Regions from separate parts of the Homo sapiens genome. Here region 2 is linked to region 1. Evidence: promoter capture Hi-C in 16 types of primary human blood cells and fetal thymus (Javierre and others, 2016). All regions are on one chromosome and are shown on one strand. The core of a region is centred on a gene start or on the middle of the fragment in contact, and the rest is flanking DNA. Distances in the headings are between cores, read along the strand shown. Region 1 holds the start of PEX11G (peroxisomal biogenesis factor 11 gamma). Region 2 overlaps INSR (insulin receptor).

The links. Contacts are between HindIII fragments. The CHiCAGO score rates a contact against its expected background, and 5 or more counts as called.
Region 2: a contact is called between a fragment that was not itself captured here and the fragment with the promoter of PEX11G in region 1, in 10 of 17 cell types (megakaryocytes, naive CD4 T cells, naive B cells and 7 more). The highest score is 6.4, in megakaryocytes.

The regions. Positions count from the first base shown.
Region 1 is chr19:7,485,977-7,491,350 of GRCh38, reverse strand. PEX11G (peroxisomal biogenesis factor 11 gamma) reads left to right here and starts at 2,316. Exons shown (of 5, transcript NM_080662.4): 1 at 2,316-2,400; 2 at 5,325-5,374. The coding sequence starts at 2,341. RefSeq lists silencers at 2,130-2,459, 2,510-2,569. The HindIII fragment of the contact is 16,201 bases long and covers 1-5,374 here.
Region 2 is chr19:7,144,627-7,150,307 of GRCh38, reverse strand. All of the region lies in intron 11 of INSR (insulin receptor), which reads left to right. Among named protein-coding and RNA genes, the nearest start is that of ZNF557, 78 kb to the right of the region's middle. The HindIII fragment of the contact is 1,821 bases long and covers 3,256-5,076 here.

The DNA of each region.
Region 1 (5,374 bases), core at 1,067-3,566:
CTGCCGTGAGCTGAGATCATGCCACTGCACTCCAGTCTGGGTGACAGAGTGAGACTCTGTCTCAAAAAAAAAAAAAAAAAAAAAAAATCAAGAAGTGGTAAAAATACAGAGAGACAGCAGAGAATGCAGATTAGTGGTTGCCAGGGGCTGGGAGGAGGGAGGAATTGAGTGATTGCTTTATGGGAACAGGGTGTAGGGGAGGAAACATACTTTTTCCTTTATTCTTAGTTCTTAGCTGTGATGGATCCTTGCAATGAAAGAATTAAGAAGGGCGGGTGCGGTGGTTCACGCCTGTAATTCCAGCACTTTGGAAGGTCGACGTGGGAAGATTGCTTAAGCCCAGGGCTCAAGGCCAGCCTGGGTAACATGGTAAGACTCCATTTCTACAAAAAATAAAAAATAAAAAGAAATTAGCCAATTGTGGTGGCAGGCACCTGTGGTCCCACCTACTCAGGATGCTGAGGTGGCAGGATGGCTTGATCCCAGGAGTTCAAGGCTGCAGTGAGTTAAGATCGTGCCGCTGCACTCTACCCCTTTTTTGTGGGTAGTTGGTCAAGCTACCATGGGGCAGAATGTAGCAAGCTCTGGGCATCATCCTGGGTCCTCAGGCCCAGAGAGCACACAAGTGGCGGCTTCACATCTACAAATTTGGTTCCTCCCAGAGCGAGGCCCTGTCTCAAAAAAAAAAAAAAAAAAAAAAAAAAAAAATAGAGGCCAGGCGCGGTGGCTCACGCCTGTAATCCTAGCACTTTGGGAGGCAGAGACGGGCGGATCACGAGGTCAGGAGATCAAGACCATCCTGGCTAACACGGTGAAACCCCGTCTCTACTAAAAATACAAAAAAAAAAAAAAAAAAAAAATTACCCAGGCGTGGTGGCGGGCGCCTGTAGTAGTGCCAGCTACTCGGGAGGCTGAGGCAGAAGAATGGCGTGAACCCGCGAGGCGGAGCTTGCAGTGAGCCGAGATCGTGCCACTGCACTCCAGCCTGGGCGACAGAGCGAGGCTCCGTCTAAAAAAAAAAAATTAACAAGGGAAAAACAAATTTATTAACATGTGTACCTTATGTGTACATGGGAGATGCCAAGAGAAATGAGGTGGCTTATATAGCTTATATAACTCCTGCTTATATAGCACCTTCAACATATAGCAGCAAATTTTTGGAGAAGTGACAAGACGAAGGAAAAGGACATTGAGGCCGGGTGCGGTGGCTCACGCTTGTAATCCCAGCACTTTGGGAGGCCGAGGCGGGCGGATCACTTGAGGCCAGGAATTTGAGAACAGCCTGGCCAACGTGGTGAAACCCCGACTCTACCAAAAATACAAAAATTAGCCGGGCACAGTGGTGCACAGCTGTGATCCCAGCTACTTGGGAAGCTGAGGCACGAGAATCGCTTGAACCAGGGAAGCGGAGGACGCAGTGAGCAGAGATGGCGCTACTGCACTCTAGCTTTGGGGACAGAGCAAGACTCCGTCTCAAAAAAAAAGAAAAAAAAAAAAAAGACGTCTCCAGACAAGAGTCTAAAGGTGTCCCTGGTGATCAACCTTTGTCCTTCCTGGTAGAGAGGGGAGGAGGGCACCTTTGTACCTTTAGGTCCTGCTTTGAGGCAAATCAGGGAAGAACAGAGAGCTTTTCCGGTATCAGCTTCATTGATCTCAGCTCAAAATAATCCTACACCAAGGTCGCATATTTCAGAGGGGCATATGCTGGTCTCCTACGGGGGTCTCTCTTGGGGGTGATAAAAATACCCCGAAACTAGCAAGGGGTGATGGTTGTCCAACATGTGCATGTACTAATGTCACTGAATTGTGCATTTTTATTTTTTATTTATGTATTCTAGAACAATTCTTAACGTCCAAAGATAACGTCTTTCCTTAACGTCGAAAGATGCCTTGTTGTGATATTACAGCAGTCATTCCTGCTCACTACGGGCAGGCAGACAGTGCAGAAAAGGTGAAGCACAAAAACTAAAAAGGAAAATCTCTCCTTGAACCACTGCGAACAGGTTGGTGGTTTTGCTTGGAATATTTTTGGAGCGTGTGGGTAGTTGGTTAAACTTAGAAATATATTTTTTTGTGCGTGGGTAGTTGGCCAAACCGCCGTGGGGCAGAATGCAGCAAACTCCGAGGATGATCCAGGGTCTGCAGGCCTGGAGAGCACACACGTGTCGGCCCCACCTCTGCAAACTCTGTCCCTCCCCTACAGCGGACAAAAAGCCGGTCAGGGGGACAAAGGCCTGCGGCCGCGCCTGCGCGCAAGCCTTTGGGGCGCTCCCGGTACCCCGGCCTGGCCCCGCCCCCTGGCGCGGCGCGCCGACGTCGCGGTGACGTCACGGAGTTGCCATGGCGTCGCTGAGCGGCCTGGCGTCGGCGCTGGAGTCGTACAGGGGCCGGGACCGCCTGGTGAGGCAGGGGCGGACCGGGGCCGGAGGTCCTAGAGTTTGGCCCAAGCTCAGAGACTGGGAAACGGGCCAGAGAGGGGACGGGGTCGCCCAGGATACTCCGTCGCAGAGGCCCCGTCCGAGCTAGGCTCAAATGCGGTGCCCTAGCATTGGACATTTATGTATTTATTTATTTTGGCTGGAGTGCAGTGGTGCGATCTCTGCTCACTGCAGCCTCCGCTTCCCGGGTTCAAGCGATTCTCCTGCCTCAGCACTCCCGAGTAGCTGGGACTACAGGCGCCCGCCACCACTCCCTGCTATTTTTTTGTATTTTTAGTAGAGACGGAGTTTCATCGTGTTAGCCAGGATGGTCTCGATCTCCTGGCCTCAAGCGATCCACCTGCCTCGGCCTCCCAAAGTGCTGGGATTACAGGCGTGAGCCACCGCGTCTGGCCAGCGTTGGACATTTAGATAGTTTCTGCCAACCCAACCTGTCTGGACATTGACACACTGGCCAGATTCCCGTGTTTGGACGTTTTGGATCCGACCAGGCCACTGAAGTTGTCCTGAACAATCTCGTGTTGGGATTTGGGATGTTGCAGGGCTCCCCTGTGGCTGGACATTCACTTCCAACCAGATTCCCTATAGTTGGGCATTTAGGTTGTTTCAGCCAACCTAGACCAAAGAACACGCCATGGCCTGGGCCCTGCCATGCCTAAGCAGCGATGGGTTCCAACAAAACCCCAGTTGGTCATTTAGATCGTCTCTGCCAACCCAGCCTGGCTGGACGTTTACATACCAAACAGATTCCCATGTTTGGACATTTAGGATCTGACCGGGCCACTGTAGTTGGTCCCTGGGTTGTCCCAAACAATCTCATGTGGGGATTTAGGATATTGCAAGACTCTCCCTATGGCTGGACAGTTTTTAGTTCCAATCAAGTCCCATATGGTTGAACATTTAGGTTATGCCATCCATGCCCCTGAGTCTGGACTCTTAGCTTGTCCCCACCAGTCTCTTATAGGTAGACATTCAGGTTGTACCAGGCGGTGTACTGGTGGCTAGGCATTTAGATTCCATTCAAATATCTTATGATTGGGGGGGTGGGTTAACAAATCTCCCCCGAGTTGAACATTCAGATTGCAGTGTTTTGCCATTATAATGGGGCTGGAAAGGAATTACAAGTAAAAATAAATAAAACAACAGGAACAAGCAATTTCTGAAAAGCAGGTAAAATAAAGATATAAGGGAGGCCAGGCGTGGTGGCTCGCGCCTGTGATCCTAGCACTTTGGGAGGCTGAGCTGGGTGGATTGTCTGAGCTCAGGAGTTTGAGACCAGCCTGGGAAAAGTGATGAAACCTCGTCTCTACTAAAATACAAAAATTAGCCGGATGTGGTGGTGCGTGCCTGTAGTCCCAGCTACTTGGAAGGCTGAGGCGGGAGAATTGCTTGAACCTGGGATGCAGAGGTTGCAGTGAGCTCACACCTTTGCACTCGAGCCTGGGGAGCAGAGCAAGACTCTGTCTCCAAAAGAAAAAAGATCTGAGTAGTGAAGATGACCTATTTCAGAAGGCTCCACATCACCTACTGAGTAGGTTCTTTCTCTCTAAAGTAATTCTACCAAATTATCCTGTTGTTCACTGGGTTGAGGCCTGATCACCTGTGCCCACCATTCAGCACATCCAAAGGCTTTGGTCCAGGCAGGTAGATGTAAATATACACTTTAGCTGTGGCTTCCTGCCACCTGGGAAAAGAAGGACCTAGGAGGTGGGAAGTAAGGAGCTTTGTTTTCTTTGTTCCTGTCACATCTGTTCCCAAAGGCTGTGCCCTTCAGTTACATCAATGATGTCATGTTTCTTCATTTGTCCCACCTCCAAGTATGTTTTTAAACTTCCAGCTTTTTTTTTCTTTTTCTTTTTCTTTTTTTAGACAGGGTCTCGCCCTGTTGCCCAGGCTGGAGTGTAGTAGCACGATTACAGCTCACTACAGTCTGGAACTCCTGGGCTCAAGTGATCCTCCAGCATCAGCCTCCCAAGTAACCACCATGCCCTGTTAACTTAAAAAAATTTTTGGTAGCCAGGCGCGGTGGCTTACGCCTGTAATCCCAGCACTTTGGGAGGCCGAGGCGGGTGGATCATGAGGTCAGGAGATCAAGACCATCCTGGCTAAAATGGTGAAACCCCATCTCTACTAAAAATACAAAAAATTAGGTGGGCTTGGTGGCGGGTGCCTGTAGTCCCAGCTACTCGGGAGGCTGAGGCAGGAGAATCGCATGAACCCGGGAGGTGGAGCTTGCAGTGAGCCGAGATCGCGCCACCGCACTCCAGCCTAGGTGACGGAGCAAGACTCCGTCTCAAAAAAAAAAATTTTTTTGGTAGACACAGGGTCTTGCTATGTTGCCCAGGCTGGTCTCAAACTCCTGGTGTGAAGGCATCCTCTCACCTCGGTTTCTCAAAGTGCTGGGGTTACAGGTGTGAGCCACTGTGCCCCACCTAAACTTTCAGCTTTTACTGTCACTTTGTAGATTTAGAATCTTCCAAACTCTTGGGTCAGGCACGGTGGCTCATGCCTGTAATCCCAGCACTTTGGGAGGCTAAGGCAGGTGGATCACTGAGGTTATGAGTTTGAGACCAGCCTAGCCAACCTGGTGAAACCCTGTCTCTACAAAAAATATAAAAATTAGCAGGGTGTGGTGGTGGGCGCCTGTAATCCCAGCTACTGGGGAGGCTGAGGCACAAGAATTGCTTGAACATGGGAGATGGAGGCTGCGGTGAGCCGAGATCGTGCCACTGCACTCCAGTCTGGATGACAGAGTGAGACTCTTTCAAAAAAAAAAGAGAATCTTCCACACTCTCAATCCAGCGGGGCCCGGGGCCAGGTATGGGGGGATGCAGCTCAGTTCTGCAGAACAGGAGGGCCACACTGACTGCTTCTGGTTTCCCACAGATCCGAGTGCTGGGGTACTGCTGCCAGCTGGTTGGTGGAGTTCTGGTTGA
Region 2 (5,681 bases), core at 2,917-5,416, 340 kb after region 1:
GTGGGGAGAAACCTTCACTAACACACTCTTGCTAAAACATAGAATCATGGGAGTGCTTCCTGGGTACCCCCTCCCTGCCTTCTGTTTGCAGCCACTGTTTGCTCACTAAACATCTCTGCACCTCCCGCGTGCATTTGCAGAGGTGGGTGGGGGTCCCCGGAGTCTGAGCTCCCCGCGGCTGGGTGCCCCGACCCAGCAGCTCCTACACCATGAATGGAGGTTGATCTGGAAACAGAATATTTTCATGAAAGGGCGACAGGGTATGAACAAAAGAACACCGTGTCGCTCACTGAATTCCACGGAGGAGAGTCAGGGATCTCTTCCTTCCTTCCTTCCTTCCTTCCTTCCTTCCTTCCTTCCTTCCTTCCTTCTTTCTTTTTTTCCTTCTTTCTTTCTTTCCTTCTTTCTTTTCTTTTCTTTATTCCCTCCCTCTCTCCCTCCGTCCGTCCCTCCCTCCCTTCCTTCTTTCCTTCTTCTTTTTTTTTTGGATGGAATTTCACTCTTGTTGCCCAGGCTAGAGTGCAGTGGTGCGATCTCGGCTCTCCACAACCTCCACCTCCCGGGTTCAAGCAATTCTCCTGCCTCAGCCTCCTGAGTAGCTGGGATTACAGGCATGCGCCACCACGCCCGGCTAATTTTTGTACTTTTAGTAGAGACAGGGTTTCTCCATGTTGGTCAGGCTGGTCTCGATCTCCCGACCTCAGGCGATCCGCCCGCCTCGGCCTCCCAAAGTGCTGGAATTACAGGCGTGAGCCACCGCCCCTGGCCAGGGACGTTTCTTTTCAACTTGAGTCTTAAGAGAATGAAGCAGTATGGTCCTGGGAGAGAGAAAAAGCTTGGAGAACTTGGGAGAAAGGCAAGGAGATGTTTACCTGTCGTGGCTTTTGGGAGGAACAGGAGGTGAGACTAAAGAGGCAAGTTGGGACCACTTGGAGAGATTTTCTTCCTTTAGCAGAGTGTTTATTTATTTATTTTTTCCCAGGCACCTGTGTGGCCTGATCTGCCCTCTAGTGGCCATTTGCAATACTAACTGTAGCCAAGAAGGGTCTAAAAATGTACGGGCTTGGTCCAAAGCAGATCTCAATCTCAGTCCTGCTATTAATAATATTCGGGTGGCTCACGCCTGTAATCCCAGCACTTTGGGAGGCCGAGGCGGGCGGATCATGAGATCAGAAGATCGAGACCATCCTGGCTAACACGGTGAAACCCCGTCACTACTAAAAATACAAGAAATTAGCTGGGCGTGGTGACGCAGCTACCCCAGGCGGGGCAATCACTTGAGGCCAGGAGTTCGAGACCAGCCTGACCAAGATGGTGAAACCCCGTTACTACAAGAAACATAAAAATTAGCCGGGCGTGGTGACACACGCCTGTAGTCCCAGCTACTCGGGAGGCTGAGGCAGGAGAATGGCGTGAACCTGGGACGCGGAGCTTGCAGTGAGCCAAGATCGTGCCACTGCACTCCAGCCTGGGCCACAGAGCGAGACTCCGTCTCAAAAAAAATAAAAATAAAATAATATTTGGGGCCACAGCTGGACTTGGTAGCTCACGCCTGTAATCCCAACACTTTGAGAGGCCCAGGCGGGGCAATCACTTGAGGCCAGGAGTTCGAGACCAGCCTGACCAAGATGGTGAAACCCCGTTACTACAAGAAATATAAAAATTAGCCGGGCATGGTGACACACGCCTGTAGTCCCAGCTACTTGGGAGGCCGAGGCAGGAGAATCACTTGATTTCTGGAGGCGGAGGTTGCGGTGAGCCGAGATCTCGCCACTGCATTCCAGCCTGGGTGACAGAGCGAGACTCTGTCTCAAAAAAAAAAAAAAAAAAGAATAAATACATAATACTAATAATAATAATAAATAATATTTGGGGTCAGATTATTCTAGGGCACTGTCCAACAACACTGAGAAGCATCCCTGGCTTCCACTCATCTGATGCCAGTAGTGTGTCTTCCCCCTAAAGTAGTAATAACCAAAAATATCTTCAGACATTGCTAAATATCCCCCTGGGTGATGGGGTCAGAAGGACCCTTGGTTGAGATGACCAGGTTAGTGTGGGATTGCTGGATAATAAAATGCTGCCTAGGCCAGGTGCTGTGGCTCATGCCTGATGCCTGTAATCCCAGCACTTTGGGAGGCCCAGGCAGGCAGATCACCTGAGGTCAAGAGTTTGAAACCAGCCTGGGCAACATGGCGAAACCCCGTCTCTACTAAAAATACAAAAATTAGCCGGGCATGATGATGCACGCCTGTAATCCCAGCTACTTGGGAGGCTGAGGCAGGAGAATCGCTTGAACCCAGAAATTGGAAGTTACAGTGAGCCAAGATCACACCACTGCACTCCAGCCTGGGCAACAGAGCAAGACTCTGTCTCAAAAAAAAAAATCAGTTGATGCTTTGTCTTTTGCCACTTCATGGTCTTTTTGGTTATAATCTTTTTGGTATATAAACTCATTTGGCCTGTTTGATGAGCCCATTTTACATCTCTGGTTGTTGAGATACCAATTTCTCAGTAGTTACTCATGAAGCACCAACGTCTTGGTTATTTTCACGAGACCCATTTGTGCCTGTATAGAAATTATCTGAATCTTGCTAATACGGACATATCTTTGGCTTGATAAGTGGTGGAGCTGTTTTCTTTTCCATTCTACAATGTTGTTAGTCTTTTAATACAAAAAGACCATAAAGAGAATCTTAAGAAATGCCCCCAAAGTAGGATTTGTTTTCTGACCACACATTTTCTGATGACGCTGCAATAGAAACTAAAAGTTAATTTCAAAAGATTAAACAGAAAACTTCACTTCTTGGTGGTTAAAAGTTAAACACTTACAGGCTGGGCGCAGTGACTCACACCTGTAATCGCAGCACTTTGGGAGGCCCAGGCAGGCGGATCACCTGAGGTCAGGAGTTTGAGACCAGCCTGGCCAATATGGTGAAACCCCTTCTCTACTAAAAATACAAAAATTAGCCAGATGTGGTAACGTGCGCCTGTAGTCCCAGCTACTCAGGAGACTGAGGCAGAAGAATCACTTGAACCTGGGAGGTGGAGGTTGCAGTGAGCCGAGATCACGCCACTGCCCTCCAGCCTGGGCAACAGAGCGAGACTCTGTCTAAAAAAAAAAAAAGTTAAAAAGTTAAACACTTACATATCTATCGGGCCAAAGCAGAAATGGAAACTTCCATTGAAGTCCTTTTGGAAAATAATGAAAATGTGAATATCACATACCTTAACTTGTAGAATATTGTCAAAGCTTGGCTTTGATGTTACTTAGCAGACTTAAATGGATTGATAAATTAAGAAATAAACTTTAAACTATAAAACTATAAATGTGTTAGGAAGGGAAAAGCAATAACAGCTAAGCCTATGGTAAACATAATCAAAGGGAAAACACAAACCAGAAGGAAAGAAGATGACATAAAACTAGCGTCTGAAGAAAATTTTAATGTGTTAAGTTCTTTGGACAATGGTGCACTTGCTAAATTTGAAAGTTTCAGTAAGGTGGGAAAATTTAACTTGTCTAAATGGATTCAAAAAGAAGCAGAAAAATTAAGTGGTTATGAACCTTGGAAAAAGATATGTGTCAAATAATTTCCTCAAAAAAGTCCCTTGGCCCAGAGAGTTTTATAGACACGTTCTTTCAAATTGTGAGAGAGCAACTATTTCCTATAATAGAAAAACTATTTTAGGGCACAGAAATCTATAAAAGTTATCCCAGTTCATTTTATGAAATGAACATAACACCCTTAAAGAACTTGACAAAGAGGTTGAGCATGGTGGCTCATGCCTGTAATCCCAGTACTTTGGGAGGCTGAGGTGGGGGGCGGATCACAAGGTCAAGAGATTGAGAACATTCTGGTCAACATGGTGAAACACTGTCTCTACTAACAATACAAAAATTAGCCAGACATGGTGGCACACGCCTGTAATCCCAGCTACTTGGGAGGCTGAGCCAGGAGAATCGCTTGAACCTGGGAGGCAGAGGTTGCAGTGAACCGAGGTTGCGCCATTGCACACTCCAGCCTGGCAACAGAGCAAAACTCTGTCTCAAAAAAAAAAAAAAAAAAAAAAGAACTTGACAAAGATACTGCACTGAACAAAAGCCACAGGCCAAGCTAATATGTGATGTTAGATTCAAATGTCCCAAATAAAACACTGCACTGGCAATATTGTTTATCTCCAAAATGCAAGGATGGTTTAAGATCAGAAGATTTGATAACATCATCTAGTTCATCAAGAGGTGCAATAAGGAAGATCATATCTGTTTCAATAACCTTAATTTAAAATTCCTAACTTAGAGAAAGGGGAGGAAAAAAAGAGGCTTCATAAAACTCATAATAGAATATTTCTTCTACAAGATAAATATTACCTAGGTTAAACCAACAGCCAAGCTAACATCATTCTTAAAATTATTCTTAGCAGAGTTAGGAACAAAACAAGGAAGCCCCATCTCATCATTACTAATTAACATTTCTCTGGGCATCCAGCCAATGTAATAAGACAAGAAACAGAAATCAGAGTTGTAAAGAATGGAATGTGGGAAATAAAGTCATTGCTATTTGCAGAGCGTCTAGCTCAAGGGTAGGCAAACTATGGCCCATGGGCTAGCTGCCTGTTTTTGTAAATGAACTCTTATTGGAATGCAACCCCACCCACTTGTTTACACATCATGTAGGGCTGCTTTAAGCTACAATGACAGAGTAGTTGTGACAGAGGTCATTTGGCTTGCAAAACCCAAAATATTTATTATCTAGCCCTTTACGGGAAAATTTTGTTGACCCCTCTTCTAGTGTGTCATTGAAAACCCAGGAAAGCCAATTATGAAACTTTTTAAATGAGTTAGAGTTTGGGAAAGTAGGTACATAGAAATAAGCAAAAAGACTGTAGATACACAAGCAATAATTAGAATATAAAATAAGGGAAAAGATCCCTTTCAAAATTGCCGTAAAACCTTAGCACAACTCATAATAACCCCATCTAGAATGACTTATAAAGGAACACGTTTTAAAGTGTTACTGATATATTAAATTGTACAAATAAACATGAAAGCCTGTTTCAAATCATTTAAAGAAAGCTTACTGGCAAATGGAAAAGAGTAAGTTGTATAGCACGATACATAAAAGGTTAATATCCTTAATGAATAAACAACACAGGAGTAAGGAAAACACAAGAAATTCATGGAAAAACAGACAAAAGACAAGGAGGGGACAATTCTTTGGAGAATCACAGAGAACCAATAAAGGAAAAATGAAGTCACACTCAGTAATATAAAGATCCGCAAATAACGTAGTCGAGTGATAGCATATTTTTAATCTCTTGGGTTAAAGATCTAGACAAACAAACATAGAAAGAAAAAAAAAAACTATTAAGGCTTAGGGGTTGCTGAGATTGTCCTGGAATGCAGTCTCATGGCCTGCTGGTGCAACCACAAGTCAATATAGAGTTTCTGGACAACCATTTAGCTGTAGGTATTAAGAAGCTTAAAGAGTTTCTTATCTCCCTGAACCTAGTAATATTTTCCTCTAGGAATCTACTTTGGGGAAGTAATAAGACAATCAGACAATGATCAAAGGAATATTTATAACAGCAAAAAAAAAAAAAAAGAGCCATGTGCGGTGGCTCATGCCTGTAATCCTGGCACTTTGGGAGGCTGAGGTGGGCAGATCACCTGAGGTCAGGAG